Regions from separate parts of the Homo sapiens genome. Here all the other regions are linked to region 3. The links are contacts of gene promoters, found by promoter capture Hi-C in blood cells and fetal thymus (Javierre and others, 2016). All regions are on one chromosome and are shown on one strand. The core of a region is centred on a gene start or on the middle of the fragment in contact, and the rest is flanking DNA. Distances in the headings are between cores, read along the strand shown. Region 1 has its middle 31 kb from the start of APLN. Region 2 has its middle 27 kb from the start of XPNPEP2. Region 3 holds the start of BCORL1 (BCL6 corepressor like 1). Region 4 has its middle 11 kb from the start of APLN. Region 5 has its middle 34 kb from the start of APLN. Region 6 has its middle 14 kb from the start of APLN.

Region 1 (2,700 bases), core at 40-2,539, 300 kb before region 3:
ATTCTAGTGGATGGGAAACACAGGTAGGTCAGAAAATTTTAAAAAGCTTTCTTTTTCTTTTTTTTTTTTTAGAGACAGGGTCTCACTCTGTCACACATGCTGGAGTACAGCAGCGTGATCGTAACTCACTGGACTCAAGTTATTCTCCCGCTTCAGCCTCCCAGGCGTGTGCCACCACACCTAGCTTTGTGTGTGTGTGTGTGTGTGTGTGTGTGTGTGTGTGTGTGTGTGTGTGTAGAGAGAGACGGGGTCTTACTATGTTGCCCAGTCTGGTCTAAAACTGGGCTCAAATGATCCTCCTGCCTCAGCCTCCCAAAGCACTGGGATTATAGGCATGAGCCACCACAACCGCCAAAAATCTTTAGTAATAAGAGCCATGCAGAGAAAAGAGAGTAGCTATTTTGTAAAGAGGTAGGGAAGGCCTCTGTGAGGAGGTGACATTTAAATTGAGATCTGGATCATAAGAAGGAACCATCTCAGAGGGAGAGCATTCCAGGCAGGAGGTATGAGAGCAAAGGCTCAAAGGTGGTCATGAGTTTGGCCTGTTAGAGGAACAGGAAGAAGATGCATGGCAAGGGATGGGAACATGGCAGGAGATCAAGGTAGAAATGCAGGGGCCAGATCAGGCAGGGCCTTCTAGGTCATGAACATATGGGAATCCACTGGAGTGTTTCAAGCAGGAGAAGGAAATGATCTGATTGGTGTTTTAAGATCATGCTGACTTCCTTATGGAGAGTGGATTGGTGGGCAGAGGGATGGTGGAGAAAAGTGTAAAGATTAAGGATATGTTTGGTGATGAAGTCAACCAGATAGCCTGATAGATTAGATGTCATGGATGAGGTAAAGAGAGGAATCAAAGATGGCTTCTATGTGGGGGTTGAACAACTGCATGGATGGTGTCTGTTCAGGCTGCTACATCAAAATACCTTAGATTGGGTGGCTCATAAACAACAGAACTTTTTTCTTATAGTTCTTGAATGTGAGTCAAAGATCAAGGCACCAGCAGATTCAGTATCTGATGAGGGCTCACCCTCTACTTCATAGATGGCACCTTCTTGCTGTGTCTTCACATGGCAGAAGGGGCAAACAAGCTCCCTGAGGCCTCTTCTGTATGGGCACTAATCCCCTTCACCTGGGCTGTCTCCTAAAGTCCCCACCCCTTAATACCACTGCACTAGGGATTAGGTTTCAACATATGAATTTTGGGAGGAGAAGGGGGGCCAACATTCAGACCATAACAGATGGGGATGCCATTTACAGAACTGAGGAAGGCATTGGGGGAGTGAATTTGGAGGAAACGTTGAGTTGTTTTGAACATGTCAGTTTGAGATACCTACTAAACATCCACATAGTAGTGTCAAATAGACAGTTGGATTTATGAGTCTGCAGTTCTTAAGAGTAGTCTAATCTAAAGATATAGAGTCAGAAATATTGTCATTGTGCATACCCACCTAGGCCGAGCACAGTGCCTGGCATATAGCAGCCAGCCTAAAATTTGGGTGGGTTGGTTGAATGAATGAATGAAATTCTTAGAGCTTCAGAATGAGATAGATCTTGGTTCAAATTTAAATCCTGGCTCTGCTACTTACTAATTTAACCTTGAATAAGGTATTAAACCTTTCAGAGCCTCAATTTCCTCACCTGCAAAATGGAGATAGTGATAATACTTATCCCATAGGGTGGTTGTAAGGATTATACTAAATAAACCATGTAAATCACCCAAGGTGCTTAGTACAGTCCCTGGTGCATAGTAAGCACTCAGTAAATTGGTGGCTGTTACAATATTCAAAATATGAGATAGGCCCCAAGAAAGCAAGCCTTGGAGAGACACTCCAGAGGGCAGCCCCACAGGGTGGGACAATGTAGCTCAGCTATATGTGTGAAGCAGTAATGCCTAGTGGGTAGGTGTTGCTCCCTTGAGCCAAACTGTCTGGGTTTATAATCCTGACTCAGCCACTTAGTAGCTTACTTAACCTCTATGTGCCTCAGGGGGGTTTAGAAATTATTATTATTTAATCTCTAAAATAGGGATAATAATAGACCTACCTCATAGGGCTGTTGTGAAGGATTAAGTGAGATAATCCATGAAAAAGGCTGAGAACAGTGCCTGGTTCATATTAAGGGCTCAATCAATGTTAGGAGCTATTATCACAGGGATGTAGGAGGGAGGGGGATGCAAACAGGCTTCAGCTGTGCCCTTGACCTCCCTCCAGAGAAGACAGTATTCAGCCCTGCCAGGCAGCAGAGCCCGTTTCATGCAGCTCTTCTCTCCCAGCACTCTCCTTCCTACTCCTCCCCGGCTGTGGCCTCCCAGTTTTTGCAACTCCCTGAATAGCTTATGAACCTTTGCCAGGGTTGGTGTGGAAAAGGCCAACTCCTCCAGTAGAGAGGGCTGCAGAAGCTCAGCCTCCCTTCACACTGGGGGAAGTGTTAGCCACAGGCTACAGGCAAAGGGAATCCAGATCCCCAAGCTGCCTGAAGTTATCTAGAAGCAGAGAGAAATAACCAACTGAGACAGTCCCAGAGGGCCCCCCAAGCTTCTTTTCCATTTAAATGCTCTCTTTGTTACTAAGAAGCAAACCTAGCCCATCCCCACTGGCACCAGCCTGCCCATTGTTTCCCTAAGAGACCATCCCAAGCCAAGTGCTGGGGCTACCTCTCCCTTAAAGGAATGGCAGCCTGGAGGTTGCACTGCAGTAA
Region 2 (2,700 bases), core at 66-2,565, 270 kb before region 3:
TGGGAAAATCCGAATGAAGTCTGTAGTGTAGTAGTATTGTACCAAGGTTAATTTCTTATGTTTGAGAAATATATTGTGTTTATGTCAAGTGTTTATGAAAGGTTGGATGAAAGGTCTATGGGAACTCTCCATTTCACAACTCTTCTATAAATCTAAAATTATTTTAAAACAAAAAGTTTTTAAGAAAATACCAGGCCGGGCGCAGTGGCTTATGCCCGTAATCCCAACACTTTGGGAGGCTGAAGTGGGCAGATCGCCTGAGGTCAGGAGTTTGAGACCAGCCTGGCCAACATGGTGAAATCTCATCTCTACTAAAAATACAAACATTAGCCGAACATTGTGGTGCACGCCTATAATCCCAGTTACTCAGAGGTTGAGGTAGGATAATCACTTGATCCCAGAGACGGCGATTGCAGTGAGCCAAGATCGTGCCATTGCACTCCAGCCTGGGCAACAAGAGCAAAACTGCATCTCAACAAAAATAAAAGAAAATACTCAACCCAAAAGAGGGCAAAAATAGAGGAAAAAGTTGACAAAGAATAGAAAGGAAGAATAGAAAACAAATAGAGAAGTGGATGACCTAAATTCAACAATATCAATAACGACATCAAATGTGAAGGGACTCTAAGCAGTACAATTAAAAGTTAGAGATTGTCCTACTGCATTAAAAAGAAAATTGGACTCAACATTTGTTTCAAGCATATGTTTTAAGCATAAAGACACAGATGGGTTAAAACTAAAATGATAAAGATGCACCAGGAGTGGCTATGTTAATTTCAAAGTAAGCTTTAAGACACAGAATATTACCAGGAATAGACATGTTTAATGATAAAACAGTCATCAGGACAATATAACAATCTTAAATGTGTATGTCCCTAATAACAAGCTTCAAAATACATGAACTCAAAACTGACAGAATTGAAATAAATAGACAAATTTGCAACTATAGTTGGAGAGTTCAACAGTTCTTTCTCAGTAACTGATAAAATAAGTAAACAGTAAATCAGTAAGAGTATATAAGACTTAACATCTTGACAGGAGTGGTGGCTCACACTTGTAATCTCAGCACTTTGGGAGGCCGAAGCAGGCAGATCACTTGAGGTCAGAAGTTTGAGACCAGACTGGCCAATGTGGTAAAACCCCGTTTCCACTATAATAAAAATACAAAAATTAGCCAGGCATAGTGGCAGGCTCCTAAAATCCCAGCTACCAGAGAGGCTGAGGCAGGAGAATCACTTGAGCCTGGGAGGTGGATGTTGCAGTAAGCTGAGATAGCACCACTGAACTCCAGCCTGGGTGACAGAGTGAGACTCAGTCTCAAAACAAAACAAAAACAAACAAACAAACAAAAAAACCCACTTAAACAGCACCCTCAATCAACCTGACCTAATTGGCATGAATAGAACACTGCACCCAATATCTGCAGAATACACAGTCTTCTCAAGCACATATGGAACATTCTCCAAGATAGACCATAAGCTGGACCATCAAACAAGTCTCAATAAATTTAAAAGGACTAAAATCATGAATGTATGTTCTCTGATCTCAACAGAATTAAATTCAAAATCAATAACAAAAAAGATATCTATGGAATCCTTAAATATTTGGAAATTAATGACACACTTCAAAATAATCCATGAGTCAGAGAATAAATCAAAAGGGAAATTGAAAAGCATTTTTAAATGAATGAAAATGAAGACAGCATATAAAAATTTGCGGGATGTCACTAAAGCAGTATTTAGGGGGAAGCTTATGGCACTCGATACCTATATTAAGAAAGAAGAAAGGTCTTAGATCAATGACCTCAGCTTTGTTAAAAGAAAAACTCTAGACAAATTAAATTTAACAGAGTTAAATTCAGCAAAGACCAATTTGCAAATCAGGCAGCTTCCTAAACCGGAATAGATTTAGAGTGACTCCAGCACTGCCATGTGGTTGGAGAAAATTTATGTACAGAAAAAGGAAAGTGATGTACAGAAAACGGGAGTGTGGGCTGGGCAGAGTGGCTTACGCCTGTAATCCCAGAACCTTGGGAGATCAAGGCTGGTGGATCGCTTGAGCCCAGGAGCTCCAGACCAGCCTGAGCAACATGGCGAAACCCCATCTCTACCAAAAATAGAGAAATCAGCTGAGTGTGGTGACACACGCCCATAATCCTAGCTACTCAGGAAGCTGAGGAGGGAGGATTGATCGCTTGAGACCCAGGAGGCAGAGGTTGCAGTGAGCCAAGGTTGTGCCACTGCACTCCAGCCTGGGCGACAGAGTGAGACTCTGTCTCAAAAAGAAAAAAAAAAAAAGAAAAGAAAAAGAAAATGGAAGTGAGGTACAGAACCAGCTGGATTAATTACAGCTCAATGTTTGCCTTATTTGAACACAATTTGAACAGTTGGCCGCCTGTGATTTGCCAAAACTCGGTGACTCGTACAAGAGCAGGTTACAGTTTGTTTACACATCCAGTTAGGTTACAGTTCACTATGCACACAGAAACCTTTAGGCCGAACTTAAAACACGTAAGGAGGCAATTTCATGCTAAACTTAACAGTTTCAAGCTTAAAAAGCTAGAAAAGGAAGAATAAATTAAGCCCAAAATAAGTAGAAGAAAGGAAATAACGAAGATAAGAACAGGAATCAATGAACTAGCAAATAGATAGAGAAGATCAATGAAACCAAAAGTCAGTGCTTTGAAAATATCAATAAAAA
Region 3 (2,700 bases), core at 39-2,538:
GGGGTGGACGGCGACGGGGGTGGGGGATACTTTCCTTCCCGTGGCGGCAACCTAGTTCGTATCTTATTCCTACAAGGTAGCGTCGCTTCGAGTCGCATGGACATTGGGGTTTAGATAATTTACCCCCCACCCAAGCGATTTAATGGCTTTTAAGCAAAAGGCGAATACCTGGATTTCCATGGGAGGGATGAGGTTTGAAGATTGGGATTCACCCCTAGCTCACTTCCACTACCAACCCCTCTTTCTTGTGAGCCACTTCCACGGGTATTCAAATCTGGGGGGGAGGGGGGACGGGAGTATTAATATGCTTCTCTATTTCTACACAGGGTCGGCGTGGCGAAGGACGGCTAGCCTTGGAGGGAAAGTAGCCACCAGTCCAACTCGGGTCGCCCCCACCATTATTTCGGTGAGGGGGCAACGCTAAGAAGGGGATACTGGTGGGTAGGGGCCCAGTATAAGGGAGGGGGCTGGGTAGTCGTCCCCAGAAGGACTCCGTGTCTTGGCGGGGAGAGAGAGAGGCGAGCCCCGGCTTCAGGGGAGGGGTTCCGGGGAGGGAGATGGGGGGGTGGCGACGACGGTGGGGGGGGGAGCGGGAAGAAGGGGGAGTCACGCCCTGCCTGCAAGGGGAGCCTCCCTCAGGCCCCTGGGAGAAGGGGACTGAATGCGTCTGTTCTCCGCTGCCCGGCAGAGGAGATCTGGGGTCTCGAGATTTGCACACTGGATCGGCACCAGTGGCCTGAGAAAGTCAGGTCGGGGCATAAGGTGGAGAACGTTGGAAGAAAGAGAGAGAACCCTTTGGCCGCGGCTCACTGACCCTCTCCCTTCCTCAACCTCCCCCTTCGAGGGGCGTCGAGGTGGGGGGGGACGTGGGGCTCCTGCAGCCCCGCAGATTGAGCGCCTCCGCCTCTCCCAGGAGTCTAGCTTTTTGCCCGGCTTGCTGCAGCCACTGCTGCCTCCCTCTCCGGAATCCGCTCGGTCCTCTCAGCGATCCCCTCCTCCTCTCCTCCCCTCCCAGTGTCACCGGGGCTGCTTGGCTCTGCCCCCTTCGCCGCCGCTTGCTCCCTGCTTTCGTCCCTCCCTCTCTTGCTCGCTCCCTCCCTTCGCCTCCTCCTCCCCATTCCCCCCCACCCGCGTAGGCCGCATTCTGGGAGTTGTAGTCCGGTGGAGCGGGGGTTGGCGCCGCCCGCGGACCCAGCCGGACTCCACTTCCCGTCGAGCCCTGCGACCGGCACCCACTCCACCAGGCTTCGCTCGCACACAGACACACACACACACCGCTCTCCCCCTCACTCTTTCGCTCGCCGCGGCTGCTGCCAGTGTGTGGCTCTGTCTCTCCTCCGCTTTGCTGAGCCCTCCCTTCTTCCTCTCAGTTCCTAGAGTCCGACCGCCGCCGCCGCCGAGAGAGAGGAGAAGGAGGTCGGTGGCGATAAGGGGCGGAGGGGGGCATCAGATCGGGGCAGTATTAGGCGGGTGGCGGTTAAGAGGGAGTAAGAGGGAGCCCGGGTGGCGGCCTGAGCCTCCCCGCGGAGCCGACCCGGGAACAGGTGCGTCTTTTTTCTCTCTCCCCCAATCCCTCCACCCCTTTTGACTCCCCGGCTTTTTCGTATCCCCCCACCCGCTTCTTTCTATCTTAAGCCTTTCTCCAACCCTGTTCCTTCTTTTCCCTGCGGCCGCTCGGCTTGCCCCCCGGGGGCGCCGTCCTCTTCGTGTCCCCGGACGTAGCGCTCCCTGGAGCTGGGTATGTCTTCGCCCCTCCCTTCGGGACAGCTCCCTTCCACTTCCCACCTTCGTACCCCATCCCCTGACTTGCCCTACCCCCTTCTCGACCCCCTTCTCTCTTAGCCAGGTGAGACTCGTTCGCCACGATCCAAGAGAGTCTTCTTCCCGGCTGGGCGGGGGTCTCCATGGAAACGGGGGTCGGTTGATCCTGGGGGGGAAACCATAGGAATTACCCCACTCCTCGGAAAGGGAGGTGGAGGCTATGGTCTTGTTAACTACCTGACTCCAACCCCCGATCCAAGGATCCGACGATCCGAAGGGAGGCTGGCTAGCAGGGCAGGGCGAGAAAAGGCTTTTTTTTGGGGGGGGGGGGTGTCCGTGATGAAGTGTTGAAGAGACCGGGAGAAAATGCCCTCCAACCTCAGAGGGGAGGTGCGACGGGTGCTCTTCAGGGCTGCTTTCTTCCCGGCGCTGGGGTGCGGGAATCGTAGGGTAAGGGGTACCCCTAGGTGGCGGCGGGGCCTGGGTTCGGGAGTGGGAGTGCTGTGATGGGGGCAGGGGCAATTATCCGAGTCCCTGGAAAAAAGGCGGGGGATGACTTCGGAGCGCCCTGGCTCCGCTGCCCTCGCTCTAGGGGCGGGGGCCGCCGGGCCGGGCGCGGCGGGGAGGGGGCTTAAATTGAAGGAAGATGAGATCGGGGGCAATTCATACTAGCACCGGCAAGCCAGAGGGGAGATCCGGCGTGCAAGCCCTCCACCCGCTTCGCGCCAGGCCTGGAGGCAAGGGGTCGGCGAGCGAAGCCGAGGGCTGGAAGGAGGGAGGCTCCGGTTACGGGGCCGGGTTTCGGGATCAGGGGCAATCCCCCGGCCCTTGGAGAAGGAGGGAGAGGGATGGCCGCGAACCCCAGGGCTCCCCCACCCCGGGTCCTAAGGGGCGTGAGGGACGGACAGCAGGCCCAGCGGAGCTGGATTCGAGCGGATC
Region 4 (2,700 bases), core at 147-2,646, 320 kb before region 3:
GACCAAACTCTTAACCATGGCATGCAAGGCCCTGCATAATCTAGCCCCTACCCACTTCGCCAGCCTCTTCTCTTGCCTCTTATCCTCTTTCTATCTGCAATGCCATGTCCCTCCTGTCACAGTGCCTTCCCAATACTTTTTCCTCCTACTGAATGATTCTCTGCTCTACCCTGTCTTCTCCTGGCTAATGCCTATCATCAATCAGCTCATCTCTAATGTCAAATCACTCCTCCTCAAGAGATGTTTTCCTTGGCCCTCAGACTGGCTGAAATTCCCCTGTAATCGCTTCTCATAGTTCACAATTCAGTTTGTGTTCAGTTAATGTCTGGCTCACCCCATCCACCCCTCACTGTCCAACTAGACTGAACTCCATAAGGGCAGGGGCCATGGCTGTCTGGTTTCATGACTGTGTCCTCAGCATCTAGCCAGTGTCTAACTCATAGTAGGTGTTCAATCATTTTCCCAATCAATGCATATATGAATGAATGAATGAATAGGTCTGAACATCTGTGCTTTGCTCCCTCAAGTTCTTCTAAAAAATGAGAAAACAATGTTTCACTCCCAGGGTTGAATAAGAATCAAAACAAGAGAATGAAAGGGAAGGAGCTTTATAAACCATGAAACGCCTTACTAATTTGAGGAATCATTACAATACTGGCCAATGTAACCATTCTTCTGGGGGAGTGGGAAGTGCACTGTGCACGACTTAGGGGTAGCAGGAGGAACAAGGGTGGAGGTGGGGAAGGATACTTGAGTTCTACATTCCTCTGGATAAGAAGAATTTCTGTGGCTCTGCTATGTAGGATAAAATTACAAGAACATTCAATTCCCCTGCTTCAGGCTTGAAGCTTATAACTGATCACCCTCTGGGATCAAGAAGAAAATGCCATTCTGCTCAGGTGTAAATATTGCCCGGAGTCACCTCGGGTATTTAGGATTTTGACTGTCTTCCTTTAAAGCATCTGACCCAGGTGCAGGCTGAGGATAGGGTGACAGCCTCCTGGGCTGGATCCCTCTTGGCTGGTGCTTCCCATGAGGTGATCCATCAGCCGTGGCACTTGCTTAAGGCACTGCCCAGCTGACAAACGGCTTTGAAGTGTGCCTTTTGGCTTTGCATTCTTCCACTTCCTGGCCTTCTTGGCTTTCACTGTTAGCAGGCAGGCGGAGGGGTTGGCGGGGCTGGGTGGGGGGGCGGGGGAGGTGGTATCACCTCCTTCCTCTTGCTCCTCTAGCACGTCCATCTAAAAAACATCCCAGGAGGCTTGACATTCCAGGTCTTTAGTTTCTTACATTTGATTTCCCTAGACCCCATCAAGTCATAATCTCCTTCCTGCAGGGAAGGGATACTTCCACCTCTTCCTCCATATCCTCTTAGCTCCTTGCATTTGGGTCAAGAGACCTAAAAAGGCCATTTCTTATTTCCATCTTGTCTTCCATTGTTTTATCCCCTGGGATATCTCTGCATTCATGGCCCTGAGATGCCTCACTGGTCTGGAATGCTCAGGGCAAGCCGATCCTCTGAATCATAGACAAAGAAACTGGAAAGAGGAGTGCTCATTAGGCTGTCATTTCCCCAGTTTCCTCCACTGACCTGGATGTCTTTCCACTGGTTTGGTGGTGTGCTTCCCCACTCTGTCCCACTGGATTTTGAGGTTCAGTCTACACAGCCCCAGAGAGGTGAATAACAAAAGCATGTCTACGCATAATCCAAGCAAAATCCTCAGTTTTGTCTCAATGATTTGGGCATCCCAGTACAAAGGACTACTTCAGTAGCAGGCTTTGGGATAATTTTCTCTAATAGTTACCACAGAATTGAAGCTGGAAAGGACCTTGAAGTTTATCTGTTCAAAGACACCCTCCTTTTTTGTTTATAGCGCTATAGAGGTATAATTGACATACAATACCTGCACAAGTTTCATGCAGTGTACAAAAGTGTACAATTTGCTAAGCTTTTACATATACATACTCTCATGAAACCATCACCACTATCAAGTTTTCATCAATCCCTACAGTTTCCTTCTGCCTCTTTGTAAACTCTCCATCCAGCCCCTCCCCTCTGCTCCATCTCCAAGCAATCACTTGGGGATAATGCTTTCAAGCAGTCACCTGGGGATGGAGGAGAGGGGAGGGGCTGGAGGGAGGGTTTACTTGTTAATATATAGTTTGCATTTTCTAGAATTTTTAATAAACAGAATAACACAATACGTACTCTGTTTTTGCTGGCTTCTTTCACACAGAAAAATTATTTTGGGATTTATTCCTGCTGTTGTATGTATTAACAGTGTTTTGTGTATCAGCAGGTCATTACTTTTGAATGGCTGAGTGGTTTCCACCATATTTTGTTTATTCATTCATGTGTTGATGCACATGGATGGTTTTTTTTTTCTAGATGTTGGCTATTGCCAATAAAACTGCTATGAATATTCATATACAAGTCTCTGTATGGACAAAGACTTTCATTTCCCTTGGGAAAATACCTAGGAGTGGAATGCTAAGCCATATGGTAGATGTCTGTTTAACTTTTATAACACTACCAAACCATTTTTCAAAATGGTCATACCATTTAACATTCTCACCAGTAGTGTATGAGAATTCCAGTTCCTCCATATCCTCACCAACACTTGGTGTGGTCAGTCTTTTGTTTGTTTTCTTTATTGTGGTGAAAGGTATATATAACAAAATTTACCATTTAGACCTTTT
Region 5 (2,700 bases), core at 152-2,651, 360 kb before region 3:
AGAAGAGTATCTGGTACATAGTAAGCACTCTGCCAAGCATTAGGAATTAATATTGAAATCCTTGAATGAACAGTTGCCTTAGAGCTTAGTGTTTGGCCAGTGAAGCTCAGCAAGGCCCTCTGGGAAATGGGCAGCATTGTCTGGGCTGGGTCTGGTCAGAGGGGCATGGCTACTTTTTCTTGATCCAGGCCTGGGGTGAGTGTTGCTACTGCACCCCTTAAAGTGCTGTGAGACCCATTGTCCTCCAGTGCTTAAAGACTGAGCTTGAAGTCACCTTCCTTTTCCCACTCTAAGCCACCTTCCCTTAGAGTGGAAGAAGAGGGAAGAGTTATATCCTCATGGCCTTCTTACCACCCACGTTCTGCAGCTCTGAGCTTGGTCTCTGCTTTCACACTGTTGACCAAAGCACCAGACCTAGACCCTTTCTCAGTTCCCACCAAGAAAATGTGAGTAGTGGAATCTACTAAAGATCTTTGGTGGGATGAAATCCTGGGAGGTGGATGTGGTCACCTCACACAGTGGACAGCCTTCCCACACCTCTCTGGCTCCTCTGTCCCCTTTTCTCCCTGCTCCTCTCTTTCCCTCCAGGGTTTCCGAAGTTGCTCCAAATTCTTCCCCTGCCCCCTGAGGCCTTGGCACCTATAAAGGGTATTAAATCAGGGATGGGTATCACTTTCTACTCTTCAGAGCTTATCTAAGTATTTTTTACCAACATAGGTAGTCTTGCCCTGTGCATTCTGGTGCCAGCCCTTAAGCAATATATGAGCAAGGCCCTTCCTGTCTCTGGACCTTAGTTTCATGATCTGTAAAATGGACTGGAATCACTAGACCAGCCCTGTCCAATAGATAATAATGCAATATGTAATTTTAAATTTTCTAGTAGCCACATTGAAAAAAATAAACTGAAGAACTTAGTTATTTTTATCCTTTAGAGTAGCCACGGGGAAGCCACTGAGGAATTTTTAAACAGTGTTATTGAGATACAATTTACATATAATAAGGTGTTCATATCTAAAGTGTACAATTTGACACGTTTCGATATATGTAGACCTCCCTGAAACCATCACCACAATCAAGAGGGTGAACCACATGCAACATTCCCGGAAGATTCCTCGTGTCCCTTTGTAATTATGTATATTTAATAGTATATTTTTAATTTAATTTGGTATATCCAAAATATTATCATTTTAACATGTAATCAATATAAAATATTAGTGAGATCTTTTACATTCTTTTTTTTTTTTCATAGAAAGTCTTCAGATTCCATTGTGTGTTTTACCCTTGGAGAACATTCTGTTTTGTGGTAGCCACGTTTCAAGTGCTCCATAGCCACATGTGGCTCATGGTGACGGTTCTGGACAGCAAGGTCCATGTGATCTGTAAGCACCTTTCCCTCTCTCATGTTGAAGGCCTCCATGTGTCTATATTTCCTGACGTGTGTTCTTATCATTGATTACTACTGCTGTTGCTGCTGTGTGCACAGCCCAGGAGGTGGCCTTGCTGCCTGCCATCTGGTGGGGACCCATAGTCCCCACCACCCCACCTCGGCTGGGGCAATTGCAGGAAAACCACTTGTTGGAAACCCTCTTATACCATCGAATTCCAGAGTAGGCTCTGGATGGGGCCATCTCTGTTAACAACAGAGTTGAGGTAGATCAATTGTAAGGTGTGTTACTAATAAAAAGTATCAAAGTTTGCAAAGAAGTGACTTTGCATCATAAAAGAGGTTAGATTCAAGATTATTCTTATTACAAATAAGGGAGGCGTTATCCCTAGAATAAAGTCACTTTCCCTCTGACCCATATTCTTAAATGGGAGAACAAAGGGGGCAGAGGATGCTATTGCTTCTATGCTGGGAACCTTAGCCTGTCTTCCCTGTGCTAAAATCTTGAGCGACGTGAAGGTTCACTAAGGGAGTGGCCATGATTACTACAAATTTGGAGGACAGGTTATTATCACAACCTATGTCAATGGGAGCATGCTTAGAGGGCGCTGCACTGCAAAAAATATGGAGGAAACATGTAACAGGGGACTAAGGTGAGACAGATTCTCCAGACAGAGAGGCCTCAATTTGCCTGGGGCCTGGTGCTATTCGCTGAAGCACCTATAGAAGACTTGGAGGCTAAGCAATGCCCAGTTAGCCCGCCCTGGTGTGGGCCCAGTGAAACAGCAAGAGGGTAAGTACACCTTCCAGGCCCAGATGCCCTCAGGACCAGCCCTACTTTTGGCAAAGGAAGCATAAGCCTGGGTTCAGGCAGGGAAAGAGCTACAGACAGTTGTCTTTGGCTGGCACAGTAGTTCACATCTATAATCTCACCAATTTGGAAGGTTGAGTCAGGAAGATTACTTGAGACCAGGAGTTCAAGACCAGCCTGGGCAACATAGAAAGACCCCCATCTCTACAAAAAATAAATCAGCCGGGTGTGGTGACACCGGCCTGTAGTCCCAGCTACTCAGGAGGCTGAGGCAGGAGGATTGCTTGAACCAGGAGGTCGAGGCTGCAGTGAGCCATGATCGCACTACTGCATTCCATTCTGGGTGACAGAGAGAGACCCTGTCTGTAAAAACAAAAACAGAAAAAAAGACAATGGCCTTAATCTCCCCCTGCTTTCCCTAGGCCTAAAAGGTACCCTGCCTTTTAGGCAGGGTGAATCGGGTGGGGGCTGCCTGCCTTCCTCAGAGAGAGGGAAGGAAGCAAGG
Region 6 (2,700 bases), core at 73-2,572, 340 kb before region 3:
TCAGAAGGTCTCTGCAGTGCTGGAGGTGGAAGGGGCTGTGTGGTGAGATTCCCTCCTCCATCCCCCTGCACTCCTCACTGGGACCTTTTTCCTCCCTGCTTTGTTTATCCTCTCTTATCTTTCCATATCCCTCACATCTGAGGAGTTGGGAATTTCCAAAGGAGAGAGGAACTCCAGGCTTCCAGAAAGCTCAGGAGCCTAGAGACATGGGGGATGAAACCCCCCATAACGTATGCCAAAGTCACCAGCCTCTATCCCTACACCTGCTGGGGAGGGAGCCAGAGATGTCTCTGCCTAGATGGAAAAAGAGGCACCCTCTTTCCAACAGGCCTCTCACAGCCCCCAAATCACAAGCAGTTCTGTTGCCCTGGGACTGAGGGTGCCAAAGCGAAGCCCCTCCCCTACAGACGAGAGGTGACTGCAGCCCTGGAGGGAATGCTTGGCATTTCAGCAGTGCCTTTGCCTTCCTTTAAAGCAATGCCACCTTGTTTCTCTCAGTTCGTTTGCACATACCACAGAAGATCTTTAGACTAATGGCTTACCTTCTCAGTGACTCAGTTTCCTCAGCTATAAAATGGGATTGTGATGGGGACTGACTAAGTCAGGACAGGTGAAGTTCCTCAAACAGTGCTTGGCACATGAGAAGCGCTCTACATGAGTTTGCTAGGACTATCTAGCTATGTTCCTTAAGCGTTCACTTATCCTTTCTGAGTCCCACTTTCTTCATTTGTAAAAATAACAGGGCTTAGGGTACTGAATGATCTCTCAGGCTCATGTCAGCTCTGCCCTTCTATGATTCTGTGTGTTTAAGGTAGGGAAAGCAGAGATTGTCATCCTATGAAAATAGATGAGGGAGAACCAGGACCCCTGATAGATGAACAGACCTGCCTGGAGTCACACAGCCAGTTACTGACCAAGCTGGGGTTAGGATCCAGAGCTCAGAACCCCAAGTTTCACACCACCAGGCTAGCTCTGCAGCAGTGTGCCAATTTTTTAACATTCAGGGAAGATCAGAAAGCATTTAATTTGTGCAAAGGGAGAAGTATGGAATGGAGGTTCCAGCAGGCCCTGGGGTTATGGGAAGCTTGTGCAACCCACGTAACCCAGCAGTGGACTTCCTCACTGGCTTAGGTTCCCATTTTCCTGCCATATGCCTAATTCTTCTCCCAGAGCTCCTCCCTACAGGTCCCTGGGTCAGGTCCTGAATTGCCTCTGGAGGGCAGCCTGAATCACCCCCCACTGTTAGCTGGGACCCCAACAAATCCCTAGTCACAAGCAGGTGCTTCACATCTACCCACCCAGGTGTCCTGGGCAGGTGAGGAGGCTGAGACCCAGAAAGGGCCAAGGAAAGACTTTGCTAAGCTACCCAGCAAGCCCTGGGTAGAAGCAGATTCAGGACTGGAACCCACGTTTCTGAGCCCCTGGCCTTGTGCAGAAAGGAACCCCAATGGCCAAGCAGGTGTGCTGGAACAGGTGCCTGGCTCCACAATTCCAGACAGATCAGGTGCTAATGGTGAGCACTTAACACCTTTGGAGAGGCCTCCTGGGCTGCTGCCCAAGCTAAGCTTCTACAAGGAAAAATGCCGAGGACGTAATCTGTCCCTGGGGAGGCCCTAAAGGTTATCTGGGAGACCGGAAATTTCTAGTGACTGAGGCACACTCATGGTGGGAAAGAGGACCCTTAGCAGAAGCAGGGAAGCTATCATAGTTTGTTTTCTGTAGCCACAGACTGGGTAACTTATAAAAAAAATAGTTTATTTAGCTCACAGCTCTGGAGGCTGGGAAGTCCAAGGGCATGGCACTGGCGTCTGGTGAGGGACTTTTTGCTAAATCATGACGTGGTAGAATGGCATCACATGGCAAGAGGGCAAGAGTGTGCCAGCTCAGGTCTCTCTTCCTCTTCTTATAAAGCCACCAGTTCCATCATAGGGGCACAACCCTGATGACCTTATTTAATTTTAATTACCTACCAAAGGCACCACCTCCAAATACCATCAACATATGAATTTAGGGATTAAATTTCCAAAACATGAAGTTGAAGGATGCATTCAAACCATAGCAGCAGCTGACCTGAGCCGGGGACAGACCCAGGTTTGAAGCTCTACTCACCCATGAGTGGCTCTATGAATTTGAACAAGTGACCTCACCTCCATGAGCCTGATTTTTCATCTATAAATTGGGGTAATGATGGCTGCCCTGTCCAGTTCTCAGGGCTAGAATGAGGCTTAACAGAGATAATAATAGCTCCCACTTGGTAGGCTTGTAACATGGGCCGGGCACTGTGCCAAACACTTTCCCTGCATCATCGCGGTCAATCCTGACCACAGTGCTATAAATTGGGCAGCAGCATCCTGCCTAAAGCAGAAACATGGGCTCATCCAGATCAAGACCCTTGCTGCAAGGTCACACAGGTGAGTAAATGGTAGTGCCAGGATTTGAACCCTGATCTGACTCCAGACTTCCCCTTCCACTGGAATCACTTTGTTAGTATGATTATTATCAGAGGCCATCTCATAACCAGTGTATTAAATCACTTAATTCTACACCTTGCTGCAGAATGTAAGTCTTCCCCTTGGACTCCAGGCAAGGGTTCAGGGGCTGAGTTGAAGGGCTTGCTGATGCTTCATTTGAGACAGGGCTGGGAAGCCACCTGCTTTTATAAAGATTTTTTTGGAACACAGTCATGTCCACTGGTGTATG

Evidence for each region. The method cuts DNA at HindIII sites, captures the fragments that hold promoters and counts their contacts. A CHiCAGO score of 5 or more calls a contact.
Region 1: a contact is called between a fragment that was not itself captured here and the fragment with the promoter of BCORL1 in region 3, in 3 of 17 cell types (naive CD4 T cells, total B cells and naive CD8 T cells). The highest score is 5.9, in naive CD4 T cells.
Region 2: a contact is called between a fragment that was not itself captured here and the fragment with the promoter of BCORL1 in region 3, in 9 of 17 cell types (activated CD4 T cells, M0 macrophages, non-activated CD4 T cells and 6 more). The highest score is 10.2, in activated CD4 T cells.
Region 4: a fragment that was not itself captured here is called in contact with the fragment with the promoter of BCORL1 in region 3 in 7 of 17 cell types (total B cells, activated CD4 T cells, naive CD4 T cells and 4 more); the score reaches 11.1 in total B cells.
Region 5: a contact is called between a fragment that was not itself captured here and the fragment with the promoter of BCORL1 in region 3, in 13 of 17 cell types (activated CD4 T cells, naive B cells, fetal thymus and 10 more). The highest score is 12.7, in activated CD4 T cells.
Region 6: a contact is called between a fragment that was not itself captured here and the fragment with the promoter of BCORL1 in region 3, in 10 of 17 cell types (activated CD4 T cells, non-activated CD4 T cells, total B cells and 7 more). The highest score is 16.5, in activated CD4 T cells.

What each region holds. Positions count from the first base shown.
Region 1 is chrX:129,684,334-129,687,033 of GRCh38, forward strand. No RefSeq gene overlaps it. Among named protein-coding and RNA genes, the nearest start is that of APLN, 31 kb to the left of the region's middle. The HindIII fragment of the contact is 2,491 bases long and covers 45-2,535 here.
Region 2 is chrX:129,711,046-129,713,745 of GRCh38, forward strand. No RefSeq gene overlaps it. Among named protein-coding and RNA genes, the nearest start is that of XPNPEP2, 27 kb to the right of the region's middle. The HindIII fragment of the contact is 863 bases long and covers 885-1,747 here.
Region 3 is chrX:129,981,347-129,984,046 of GRCh38, forward strand. BCORL1 (BCL6 corepressor like 1) reads left to right here and starts at 1,289. Exons shown (of 14, transcript NM_001379451.1): 1 at 1,289-1,416. RefSeq lists a silencer at 2,118-2,354. The HindIII fragment of the contact is 8,398 bases long and covers 1-2,700 here.
Region 4 is chrX:129,664,990-129,667,689 of GRCh38, forward strand. No RefSeq gene overlaps it. Among named protein-coding and RNA genes, the nearest start is that of APLN, 11 kb to the left of the region's middle. RefSeq lists an enhancer at 1,343-1,637 and a silencer at 1,343-1,637. The HindIII fragment of the contact is 1,101 bases long and covers 847-1,947 here.
Region 5 is chrX:129,620,058-129,622,757 of GRCh38, forward strand. No RefSeq gene overlaps it. Among named protein-coding and RNA genes, the nearest start is that of APLN, 34 kb to the right of the region's middle. The HindIII fragment of the contact is 3,328 bases long and covers 1-2,700 here.
Region 6 is chrX:129,639,848-129,642,547 of GRCh38, forward strand. No RefSeq gene overlaps it. Among named protein-coding and RNA genes, the nearest start is that of APLN, 14 kb to the right of the region's middle. The HindIII fragment of the contact is 481 bases long and covers 1,083-1,563 here.